3 separate regions of the Homo sapiens genome follow, and regions 1 and 2 are each linked to region 3. The links are contacts of gene promoters, found by promoter capture Hi-C in human tissues and cell types (Jung and others, 2019). All regions are on one chromosome and are shown on one strand. Each heading gives the region's core, a stretch centred on a gene start or on the middle of the fragment in contact. The rest is flanking DNA. Distances are from core to core; before and after follow the strand shown. Region 1 holds the start of ANO9 (anoctamin 9). Region 2 holds the start of MUC6 (mucin 6, oligomeric mucus/gel-forming (gene/pseudogene)). Region 3 holds the start of TALDO1 (transaldolase 1).

Region 1 (3,696 bases), core at 282-2,781, 310 kb after region 3:
TTGTTTTAAAGACAGAGTCTTACTCTGTCACCCAGGCTGGAGTGCAGTGGTGTGATCTTGGCTCACTGCAACCTCTGCCTCCCAGGTTCAAGCGATTCTCCTGCCTCAGCCTCCCGAGTAGCTGGGATTACAGGCGTGCACCACCATACCTGGCTAATTTTTGTATTTTTAGTAGAGACGGGGTCTCACCATGTTGGGCAAGCTGGTCTCGAACTCCTGACCTCAGGTGATCCACCCGCCTCGGCCTGCCAAAGCGCCGGGATTACAGGCATGAGCCACTGCGCCCGGCCAACTCCAGATTTCACTTATAGGAGAAATACACAGCTTGTTTAAGCCACCACCATTTTGCACACAGATCTGAATGTGTTCCATTTGGATTTGCCCCATCTGAGCTCACAGGTCCTCGGCCACCACTTCACTCGCTTGTCTTTGCCAAAGTGGCAAAGCTGTGGTCTCTGCTGCCATCCCAGCCTGCCAGGAGGTCCCCCAAGGAGAAACATGGGTGGGACCATGTTACCCCTTGGGGAAACCAGAGCCGACTGTTGGCCCTGGGCCTGGACCACAGCAGAGGGCTGCTGGGCTTGCCGGGGGGTGCTCTGGCCCCAGTGGGCCTGGAGCCGTTCCGTGTGACAGCGTCTGCCTGCGGAGCTCTGGCCCTGCCTCCCCAGCTTTGCAGCAGCTTTCAGAAGCAGACTCCTCGCCACACACGCTGCAGATAATGTGTGCCAGCCCACGGCCTGGGCCCCCACTCCCCGCAGCCCTTCCCTCCTCAGGGCACTCCACTGGACGGTCACTCTCAGGACACCCAGAGCCTGCCCAGCTGCCGCCCTCAGCCCAGGCTGCACAGAACGTGCTCAGGGACTGGGGATGCGGGGTGGAGGGCTCCTCCTCCGTTGTCTACACAGCCTGGGGCCAGCCACGTGTCCCCAGGACTCCAAGGATTCCCCAGTGGGGCCCAGAAAGCAGGGGCTTGGGTAGGAGCAGACAGTTTCTTTGGGAGTCTGTCTCGTCGTCAGTCCTCCTTGCCCCAGTTTCTCCTCTAAGGGAATCAGCACTGGACCTGTGGGGTGGGGGGCCGTGGCCCGGGGTGGGGGGCCGTGGCCCGGGGTGGGGGAGGCCGTGGCCCGGGGTGGGGGAGGCCGTGGCCCGGGGTGGGGGGCCGTGGCCCGGGGTGGGGGGCATGGCCTGGGGTGGGATGCTTTTGGAGGGAACATGGGGATGTGTGAGCGGGGGTGAGAGAGGCAAGGCAAGTGGGGGCGTTGGTGCTGGCTCTGTCAGGGGCTCTGTGCCATCCTGCTTCCCCCTAGGACCAGGTGTCATGAGACCCATCTCACAGTGGAAACCCCCTTCCCGGGAACTCCAGCCTAGGAATTCCCCTCTGGCCCCTGACCCGCCATCTGGGCTCCAGGAAGGTGTCCCAGGCTCCAGGGGCTGGGGTACTCTCCTGGCCTGGATGCTGGCTCCGCCCCGACTACACCCAGGCGCGGCAGCTGCAGGACGCTGGAGGAGGAGGAGGGAGGGGCGAGCCCCACGCGGAAGTCAGGTAGGAGCACCCGCCGCTGGCAGCCACTCTCCTGGCCGCCAAACCCCAGCTGGAACTCCGGCCACAGCCAGCATGCAGGTGAGTCCTGCGCTCAAAAGGGTCCACACCTTCAAGGCCCCCAGCCACGCCCACACCTGGGGCCCCCGGCCCCAGCCCCCCGCCAGCCCCACCTGGAAGGCGCCTGTGTGTGTGGGGGGGGTCCCTGCAGGCTGCCCGGTCAGGCGAGGGTGACCGCCCGGCTCAGCTAAGCTGCCTCCTGGACTCCTGGGGCACGCTGGGGGTTGGAAGTGCTGGAGGCGGGCGGCGTTCCTCCCTCCAGCCCGGGATTCTGAGGGCACCAGGGCTGGGCTCTCAGCTAGTGTGTGGGGCCAGGAACCTCTACCAGAGTCCTGAACACGAGATGGAGAGGGCCTGCCCACCGAGGCGGGGGCTGCTGCTGAGGACCCCAGACCTGGCAGCTTTGCCTTGCAGCTGGCCCCTAAGGGGGAGCGGGCTGTGGGCACCAGGCAGGCTGCCCCAGGGTTGGGAGCTGCAGAGTGGCCGGCGGGCTGTGGGCTCTCTGCTCCCCAAGGACCCCGCCCAGCACAGGTGGGGGCCGACTGCTGCTGCTGGATTCCGATTCTGGGGGTGGGCGCTGACTGCTGCTGCTGGATTCCGATTCTGGGGGAGGGAGTGCAGGTGAACACGTAGAAAGACATCCTTTCTCCCCTCTGCCAGTGAAGAGGTCACCTGGGGCCAGGGCCAACACCTGGGCAGGTCAGCACCTGGTCGGCCCAGGGAGGAGGCAGTGGTGAGGTGTGGAGTGAAACCAGCCTCCCTCTCGGCCTGCCAGGGCCTCCACGTGTGGGCTGCGCCGGCGGCCTCTTGCTCCATCTCCGCCCAGGGCTCTCCTCGGCCCTCCACATCCAGGTCTGACACCCTGGCTGCTCAGCCCAGCACCTGATGCCCCTTAGCCTGAGCTCAGGGTCCCCTCTGCCAGCCCCTTCCTCCCATGCTGGGGGTTAGAGGAGAGACTTGGGGCTGGCCAGGGGTTGGGTTGGGAGAAGCAGCACCTGGTTTGTTGGAAGTGAGAGCATCAGTCCTTCAAAAAAGACAGTTGCAGCCGGGCCTGGTGGCGCATGCCTGTGGTCCCGGCTACTCCGGAAGCTGAGGCAAGAGGATTGCTTGAACCCGGGCGTCGTGGCATGCACCTGCAGTCTCAGCTACTCAGGAGGCTGAGGCAGGAGGACTGCTCGAACCCGGGCGTGGTGGCGCGTGCCTGCGCTCCCAGCTACTCGGGAGGCTGAGGCAGGAGGACTGCTGGAACCCGGGCGTGGTGGCATGAGCCTGCGGTCCCAGCTACTCCGGAGGCTGAGGCAGGAGGGTTGCTCGAGCCTGGGAGTTCTGGGCTGTAGTGTGTTAGGCTGACTGGCTGTCCGCACATCAGTATGGTGACCTCCCAGGAGCAGGGGACCACCAAGTTGCCTAAGGAGGGGTGAACCGGTCCAGGTCGGAAACGGAGCAGGTCAAAACTCCTGTGGTGATCAAAAAGGACAGTTGCAGACATGGGGAGGACTTGCTAGTCCCAGCTCCAGGCTGGATCTGGGCGTGCCTTTCCTCTGCTCTAACCCCTTCCATGGCTCCCCACTGCCCCCTGCTGAAGTCCAAGCTCTCCATTTGGCCAAGAAGCCTAGCAGCCTCCCCTGATTGGCCTCTGCCAACCTCCAGCCTCCCCTTCTGGCAGCTCCCTTCTTGCCCTTTATGCTTCTGCAAAGCTGAAGTACCAAGGACTGAGTCCCTGGACTCAGTTTCCGTAGGTGCCGAGTGCTGAGTCACCAGGAGTAGTAGCTACCAAGTCCTCCTTGGAGGTGCTGAGTGCTGAGTCCCTGGGAGGTGCTGACTGCTGAGTCCCAGACACCAACTGCACCCTGATTCTCAGGGCGTGCCCACACATGTTCTTTCTCCCGGGAATGCTGCCCCCATTTTCTCACCTTTTGCCAACCTCTTGCCCTACAATGCCAAGCTCCATGCCTCCTCACCTGCCAAGTAGGCCCCCGCCCCTGCGTCCACGAACGCCACGCACTGCCTGGGAGGGCTGCACGCAGGTCGCTCCGTCAGTGTCTGGGGATGGACGGGCACACGGATGGGTGAACTGACAGATGACAGACTGGACA
Region 2 (3,757 bases), core at 554-3,053, 290 kb before region 3:
ACCCAGGGAAGGAGGCCCTAAGATCTCTGCCCCTCATCGTCCCCACCTCGAGCCCGGGCTGAGAGGCCCCAGCTCAGAACGAGGGCCAGCTGTGAGCCCTGCGTCCATCCAACCTCTCAGCATGACAGGGCAAGGGCCTCACTCCTGTGCCTCAGCTTCTCACCTGAACCACAGGGACCACTGAGCGTGTTAAGAAGGGACAGCCAAGGCTGGACACGGTGGCTCACGCCTGTCATCTCAGCACTCTGGGAGGCTGAGGCAGGAGGATCTCTTGAGTCCGGGAGTTCAAGGCCAGCCTGGACAACAAAGTGAGACCTCGTCCCTACAAAACCGAAAAATTAAAAAGAAGAACAGATGAGAGTAGAACACCCAGAATGCCTGGTGTGGGGCTCCTGGTGGGGGGCAGCACACGTACTGCAATTTCCTACAAAAGCAACTTATTGTAACTTCAAGCAACGTTCCACAAAACTGAAGCTGATTTAAGTGAAACACGCGACACCTACTGTGTATGGCACGCGTGGCCCTGGGGCCTCTTCCGGGGGCAGGTGGGGCAGCTCCCGGGCGTGTGGGCACAGGTGGGACAGAGGTGGCAGGCCCGGGTCCCAGCCAGCAGGCTCAGCTCACCTGTGGGATGGGGGTGCAGCCCCATGTGGGGAGCCCGGCCCAGGGAGACCAGGCGGCCTCGGAGTCCCTCCTGGCTCAGGCCGGGATGCTGACGTGTGGTGGGAGCAGCCCCGAGGCCAGCGAGGGCTCCTGTCGGAGTCGGGGACCAAAATCCCCTTTGGGAGGGGTCCCTGGGCTGCCAAACGAAGCTGGGGCAATCCTGGTGACCACTCAGACCTCCACCTCCCTCCCCCCCGCCAGCCACCGGCACCACCCCGATGTCACCAGACCTTGCCCTGTCCCCGGCCCCTCAGACGTGGCACGTGCCTCCACAGGCAAGGCCCCCTGGTCATCCCAGTCCCTGCCCCTCTGCCTGAAGGGGTCAGGAGCATACCGGCGACCCCACAGCCCCGCAGAGATGCCCCAGCAGACGAGCAGCCCCCGAGTTCCTGTCCTCAAGATGGCTGCCAACAGCGCTCGAAGGGGGAAGAAAACAGCTGTGGAGGGGTCTTCAGGAGCAAGCCTGGGACCTGGCGGGCTGCAGAGACACGGTAGCTCCTCAGGCCTCCAGGGCAGCCTGTCTAAGCCCCAAGGCCGCTGCCTGTCCCAGACGGCGGAGCCCCTGCTCCCCAACACCCCCTGGCAAGGTCCCTCCCGCTGGGTGATCTTTCCTGTTGGGCAGGGAACTCAGGGGTGGGCCCAGGGCCCTTCAGGGGGTGCTGGGATTCAGGGTGAGGGGTGGGCCCAGTGCCCCTCAGGGGGTCCTGGGATTCAGGTGCAGCAGGGTTCCCCCCAAGCTGGGTCAGCACTGGGCTCCCCGGAAGGGGCAGAGCAGGTGCCCCAGGGCCCCCGACCTCCCCCAACAGGTCCATCCCGGCCACCAGGCGTGTGGCTGACAGTGCCACGTTGACCCAGCAGCGGGGAGGGCCCGGGCCAGGATGGCCCCCATGCAGGGGGTGTTTGCAGGACCTTTGGGGGCGTGCGTGCGTCAGCCCCCCGCTGGGAATGGGTGATAATGGGGCCGCTGCCTGCAGGATTTTCCAAAGAAAGCCGAGTCCTGATAAAGCAGGCCCAGATCCTGTTTGGCCACCGCGGCGCCCGCCGGCAGTGGTGATTAAGGGGCTGGACCGCGGGGCGCAGGCAGGTGCGGCGGGGGAGGGCCCGCCAGCCTATATAAGGCACCCAGGACCGGCCGTTGGAGCCGCATGGATGGCAGCAGCAGGCCTGCCGGGCCCAGCGCGAGCTCCTCTCCACTGTGCACCATGGTCCAGCGGTGGCTGCTGCTGTCCTGCTGCGGAGCCCTGCTCAGCGCTGGTGAGTGAGGTCGAGGGGCGCCAGACACTGCGGTGCCCTCAGAGGGGCCCTGTGTGCGGGGGTCTCTGGGCCTTCTCGCCTCGACAACTCGGCTGGCCCACATGGACGCTGATGGACGGGAGGCCCCAGCTCGGCTCCGTGACCAGCCCCCGCTGCCAGGCCCGGGTCCCCCCAGCAGCCGCGGTGCTGGGCTCTGCCAATTGGGGTCAGGGACCCCATGGGGCCTGGGCAGGGACGCCCTCCTGTGAGCTGGCACAGCAGCCAGCGGGGGAGGACGCTCAGCTGGAGTGGGGTCCGGCACTCCCGCGGGAACAGTGGGCAGGTGTGCTGGTGCCCAGCCCTGGCGCTCTCCCTCCCCGAGTGGGGTCCTGAGTCCTGAGAGGTCTCTGGAGTGTGGGGGACAGAGGCACAGTCTCTGCTGGGCCCTGGGCCTCGTTTCCTAGTCTACAGAAGTGGGGGACGCTGCCTCCCCTGGTGTGGCCGCCGTGGGGGGAAGAGGGGGGAAGGTGTACGGCCATCCTGGGCTCAGAACCGCCGCAGGCAGCCTGCCCTCTCCCCCGCGCTCCCCTACCCAGCTCGGGCAGGATCCAGGAGGGACTGACATCCTGGATCCTCTGCCAACCGCCTGCCCTGCGGCTGCTGCAGGTGACCATCAGTCCCTCCCCAGGCCCCCAGAAGGAGCCAGCCCCAAGGGGTCCCTCTGTGGCCGCAGCCTGAGACCTGGGGAGACCCCTCTTGCCGACCAAGGCACCAGCCCAAGGGCCTCTGTGTTCCGTGCTCCTCCTTCCTCTCCAAGCTGGCCCGACCCTCCTCCACAGCCGGGAGCCCCCTGGGGTGGACGCTGGCGTGACAGAGCTCGCCCTCGGAGCTGCTGCCAACCTGGGCGCCTCGGGCTCAGAGCACAGTGGGACCCCCCCAGGGGTGTCCCACTGTAGGGCGACCCAAGCCCACCCCACCCCTTCTCTCCTTTGAAGCCCCTTCCCCACCACGCCGGGCACCACCCTTCAACCGTGGGAGATGTGGGGGTCTCTGAGCTCGCTCCCCACCACGCCGGGCACCACCCTTCAACTGTAGGAGATATGGGGGTCTCTGAGCCCGCTCCCTACCACGCCGGGCACCACCCTTCAACCGTGGGAGATGTGGGGGTCTCTGAGCCCTCCCAGCGGTGCCCTCTGCTTGGGACCCCAGCCCCTACCTGCACACCTGGCACAGCTTGGGGACAAGTGCCAGGAAGTGGGGCTAAACTTGCAGCAGAGTGCGACCCCTAGTCCCTCGGGCCACCACCCTGGAGCCAGGGAGGGAGGTGTGGTGAGGCCCAGAGAGGCTGGAGGTCTGGGCTGTGGGCAGTGCAGAGGGTGGAGGGCCAAGTGGGGGTGTCCACCCGTCACCCCAGCAAATAATCTCTGAGCGCCATCTCTGCCAACATGGGAGGGGCCTCAGCCAGCAGAGTGTGGGGTCGGACAGACGGGCTGCAGGCCTGGGCCGCGGTGGGCCGGGAGGCAGGGGTGGGCGGCCGCCAAGCGTGCAGAAGGAACAGTGCGCACCTGCCGCCTCGTGCTCGTCCAGGGGCTGAGAGGCCGGGGGTGGCGGACCAACCCGCCCAGATGCCCATGCGCCTGGCCAAGGGATCAGCCGAGGGGAAGCACAGCCAGTCTGGGCAGGAACGCAGGAGTCTCCCGCTGGACTTCAGAGCTGGAGGCAGCCGACTTGGAGCCAGTGGACTCGGGGAACCTCCTGCGGGTGGGGCAGGGCGAGGGCGGCGGGGGGCGCAGGGGGTGCAGCAATGAGGCACCCACCCGGGGCAGTGAAGCCAGCCTGGCAGGGCTGAGGGCACCGAAAC
Region 3 (3,344 bases), core at 485-2,984:
CTCCTGACCTCGTGATCCACCTGCCTCAACCTCCCAAAGTGCTGGGATTACAGGCGTGAGCCACCTCGCTGGGCCAGAAGTTTTCTTAAAAAACAATACAAAACAAAACCAGAAACCCAGGACTCCCCAGCCCTCCTGTGGGTGTGGGTTTAGGAAAATCCATCTTTATTGGCCCTGCACTGCCAAGTGTAATGGACCTGACACTCCGCACCAGCTCTGCCCTAACTGGTGAGGGCCAGTAAGGAACAATACAGATGAGCGCTCTGTCCACCAGGCAAACTGCAAATTATTCTCAGTGCTAAGAAGGGAAAAAACTGAGCAGCAGAAAAATGTGTAGCCCCTTTTCTGGAGCTTTCTTTCTTATGAAGAGAGGTCTGGACTACAACGGGGGGGCTGTGTGTGTGAGGGATTCACAGCTCTAGCTTTGGATCTCCCAAAGAGGGGTCCGGAGCAGACTGTGGCACCCCAAGCCAGTCACTGAATCCCCATATTTTATGGTTAAGCAGCCAAACATGCCAATTCACTCTCTAGGCTCTGCTAGATAAACAATGCCCTTACTCAGTTACCAAAGAGGAATTAAAGCCTGTTTCTCAAGTCACCATGAGAAAGCAGAAAAGAGAGGAAGTCACTTCCGTATTAGGTGCTCGCAGCATTCATCCATGAAGCGTTTCATGATTTTCTTAAAAAATATTACTTGTTCTCAACAAAACATAGACACAAGGCTCGTCTACTCTGCACTGCAGAGGACAGAAGAGCTAAGTATTAATAAATAATCCTTCTTTGTATTTTCCAAGTTCTCTCCAATGTAAACAACTCAAGCCCAGGAAAATCCAGTATTTAACAGTGTACCAACCCTGTGCTTTCATGGGCACCGGCTTTTACCCACCCGGTGCGTCTGGCGGTGGCTGTCCAGCAGGCCGGGCACCTGCCGCCCACGGAGTTGTCCCACTGGGCACCGCAGGGCTCAAGGGCGATGGCAGCACTGGCAGCTTCTGGTCAGAGCTAGCTGATGTCCCCGCTCTGCAGACATCAGCCCAACAAAATTGCATCTCGCTGACCACAAACTGGCCACGTGGAAGTCAGCTCGAAGCTCTACCCTGAATCTCTCCTGAACTCAAAGGCTCTGAAAGCTGCCTCGACCCATGAAGGTGCACAGAGGGGCTCCCGCGGGCTGCCCACAGCCCGTCCCGGGTGCGGGGTCTGAGGGCGCAGCCGACCCCACCCTGGGCGGAGGGCGAGGCTGGGGCTCCGGCTTCGTGCCCCACGGCTCGCAAGGACCCGTCAGTACCGCCCGCACCGCTGACCCCAGCACCGAGCCCCTCACGGCTGACCCCAGCTCCTCACGGCTGCCCCCGGCCCTGCTCCCTCACGGCCGACCCGGGCCCCGTTCCCCTCACGGTCGCCGCTGGCCCTGCGCCTCTCACGGCCGACCCGGGCCCCGCTCCCCTCACGGCTGTCCCTGGCCCCAACATCCGGCACCTGCGCTCATTCCTCCCGGAACGAGCCGCCCGGGGCACCGCCACCCGGTCCGCGTCCCGGAACGGGAGACCCGGGGAAATCGGGGCGCCGGGGCCTCTGGAGGGCGCTTGCGCCGCGCCCGGGCTCCGCGCCGTCCTCACCGTGGAAGTCGCCCGTGTCGGCCACCACGGTGGTGAACTGCTTGAGCTGGTCCAGCGCGGACTCCATCCTCTGACGCTTCACGGGTGAGCTCGACATAGCAAGACCGAGGGGTCTGCGGCGGCGGCGGCGGCGACGGGACGGGCGCGCGGACGGCCCACAATGCCCCGCGGGCGGCTGCCAATCGGAAAGCGGCGCGGGAGGGCGAGGCCCGCTGGTCCCTGCGCGCCTGGACGAAGCCCCGCCCCCGGGGACGAAGCCCGAGCGCCACTGCCGGCCGCGCACCGCAGCTGCGGATCCTACAGGCTGGGTCTCCCCAGGTCCTCAGCAGCCGCCGCGGACGGGCCCGGGAAAACACCTGCACGACACGGGGCGGCTGGGCCTCGCCTCCTTCCTGCCCCGCGGGACGCACCGGGAGGGCTGGAGGAGATGGACCTGGCCCGGGTGCCGACTCTGCGGGGCTGAACCCGCCAGGGCCGAACCCGGCGATGCAGGATCCATGGTGGGGCCAGGACTGGGGTCGGGGGCCGCTGCAGGAAGCAGGGGAGGGAGCGGCGGGGGACGCCCTGCGGGTGCAGGAGGCAGAGCAGGGGGCGGCTGCAGAGCCCGGGCGCCGGACGCGGCGGGGAACCTGCTTCTGGGAATCTGTTCCCCTGAGTCCTAAGCCCAGAGGTGTCCGGGGGACCGAACGGCGAGGCAGGCGTAGGAGGCCCAGCTGCCCTGCTTCTTACCATCGCTGACTTGCAGAGTTCCTTGTATATTCTGATCAAGTCTCTGTCGCTTGTGTCTGCGTTGCAGACACTGTAACCGCCCCATGGGTTCGCCTTGCCAGCTGCCGGGACAGAGTCTATTGTCAAGACAGGGGAATTGCAATAGAGAAAGCATAATTCACACAGAGCCGATTGTTCGGGAGACCAGAGTTTTATTCCTCAAATCAGTCTCCCCAAAACTCGGGGATCCCAGTATTTAAGAATAATTTGGTGGGTAGGGGGCCAGTGAGTCAGAAGTGCTGACTGGTCAGCTAGGGATGAAATCACAGGGAGTCGAAGCTGTCCGCTTATGCTGAGTCAGTCCCTGGGTAGAGGCCACACAACTGGTTGGCAGGTCCAGGTGGGGCCATCCGGTTGTCAGAAATGCAAAAACCTGAAAAGACTTTTTTTTTTTTTTGAGACGGAATCTCGCCCTTGTTGCCCAGGCTGGAGTGCAGTGGCGCGATCTTGGCTAACTACAACCTCCGCCTCCCGGGTTCGAGCGATTTTCCTGCCTCAGCCTCCCGAGTAGCTGGAATTACAGGCGCTCACCACCACGCCCGGCTAATTTTTGTATTTTTAGTACAGACGGGGTTTCATCATGTTGGCCAGCATGGTCTCGATCTCCTGACCTCGTGATCCGCCCACCTCAGTCTCCCAAAGTGCTGGGATTCCAGGCGTGAGCCACCGCGCCCGGCGGAAAAGACTTCTTAAAAGGCAAATCCTAGGCTGACGCGGTGGCTCAGGCCTGGAATCCCAGCACATTGAAAGGCCAAAGCAGGCGATCACTTGAGGTCAGGAGTTGGAGACCAGCGTGGCCAACATGCAAAACCCCGTCTCTACTAAAAATACAAAATTAGCCAGGCGTGGTGGCACATGGCTGTAATCCCAGCTACTTGGGAGGCTGAGGCAGGAGAATGGCTTGAACCTGGGAGGTGGAGGTTGCAGTGAGCCGAGATTGTCCCTCTGTACACTAAC

What was found. The method cuts DNA at HindIII sites, captures the fragments that hold promoters and counts their contacts. A contact is called where the count stands out against the background at its distance.
Region 1: the fragment with the promoter of ANO9 here is called in contact with the fragment with the promoter of TALDO1 in region 3 in 4 of the 25 tissues and cell types used here (H1 embryonic stem cells, dorsolateral prefrontal cortex, small bowel and 1 more).
Region 2: the fragment with the promoter of MUC6 here is called in contact with the fragment with the promoter of TALDO1 in region 3 in 2 of the 25 tissues and cell types used here (liver and pancreas).

Annotation. Positions count from the first base shown.
Region 1 is chr11:439,846-443,541 of GRCh38, reverse strand. It overlaps ANO9 (anoctamin 9), which reads left to right and starts at 1,531. Exons shown (of 23, transcript NM_001012302.3): 1 at 1,531-1,621. The coding sequence starts at 1,616. It overlaps LOC105376506 (a long non-coding RNA gene), which reads right to left. Exons shown (of 5, transcript XR_007062542.1): 4 at 3,562-3,643; 5 at 2,869-3,057. It also overlaps the pseudogene RN7SL838P. RefSeq lists enhancers at 133-930, 1,238-1,507 and silencers at 1,339-1,633, 1,678-1,757. The HindIII fragment of the contact is 11,307 bases long and covers 1-3,696 here.
Region 2 is chr11:1,034,764-1,038,520 of GRCh38, reverse strand. It overlaps MUC6 (mucin 6, oligomeric mucus/gel-forming (gene/pseudogene)), which reads left to right and starts at 1,803. Exons shown (of 33, transcript NM_005961.3): 1 at 1,803-1,917. The coding sequence starts at 1,866. The HindIII fragment of the contact is 28,311 bases long and covers 1-3,757 here.
Region 3 is chr11:745,854-749,197 of GRCh38, reverse strand. TALDO1 (transaldolase 1) reads right to left here and starts at 1,734. Exons shown (of 8, transcript NM_006755.2): 1 at 1,620-1,734. The coding sequence starts at 1,716. LOC105376509 (a long non-coding RNA gene) reads right to left here. Exons shown (of 3, transcript XR_930962.3): 3 at 2,236-2,449. RefSeq lists silencers at 1,134-1,223, 1,324-1,613, 1,674-2,273 and enhancers at 1,453-2,101, 2,404-2,463, 2,102-2,750. The HindIII fragment of the contact is 22,782 bases long and covers 1-3,344 here.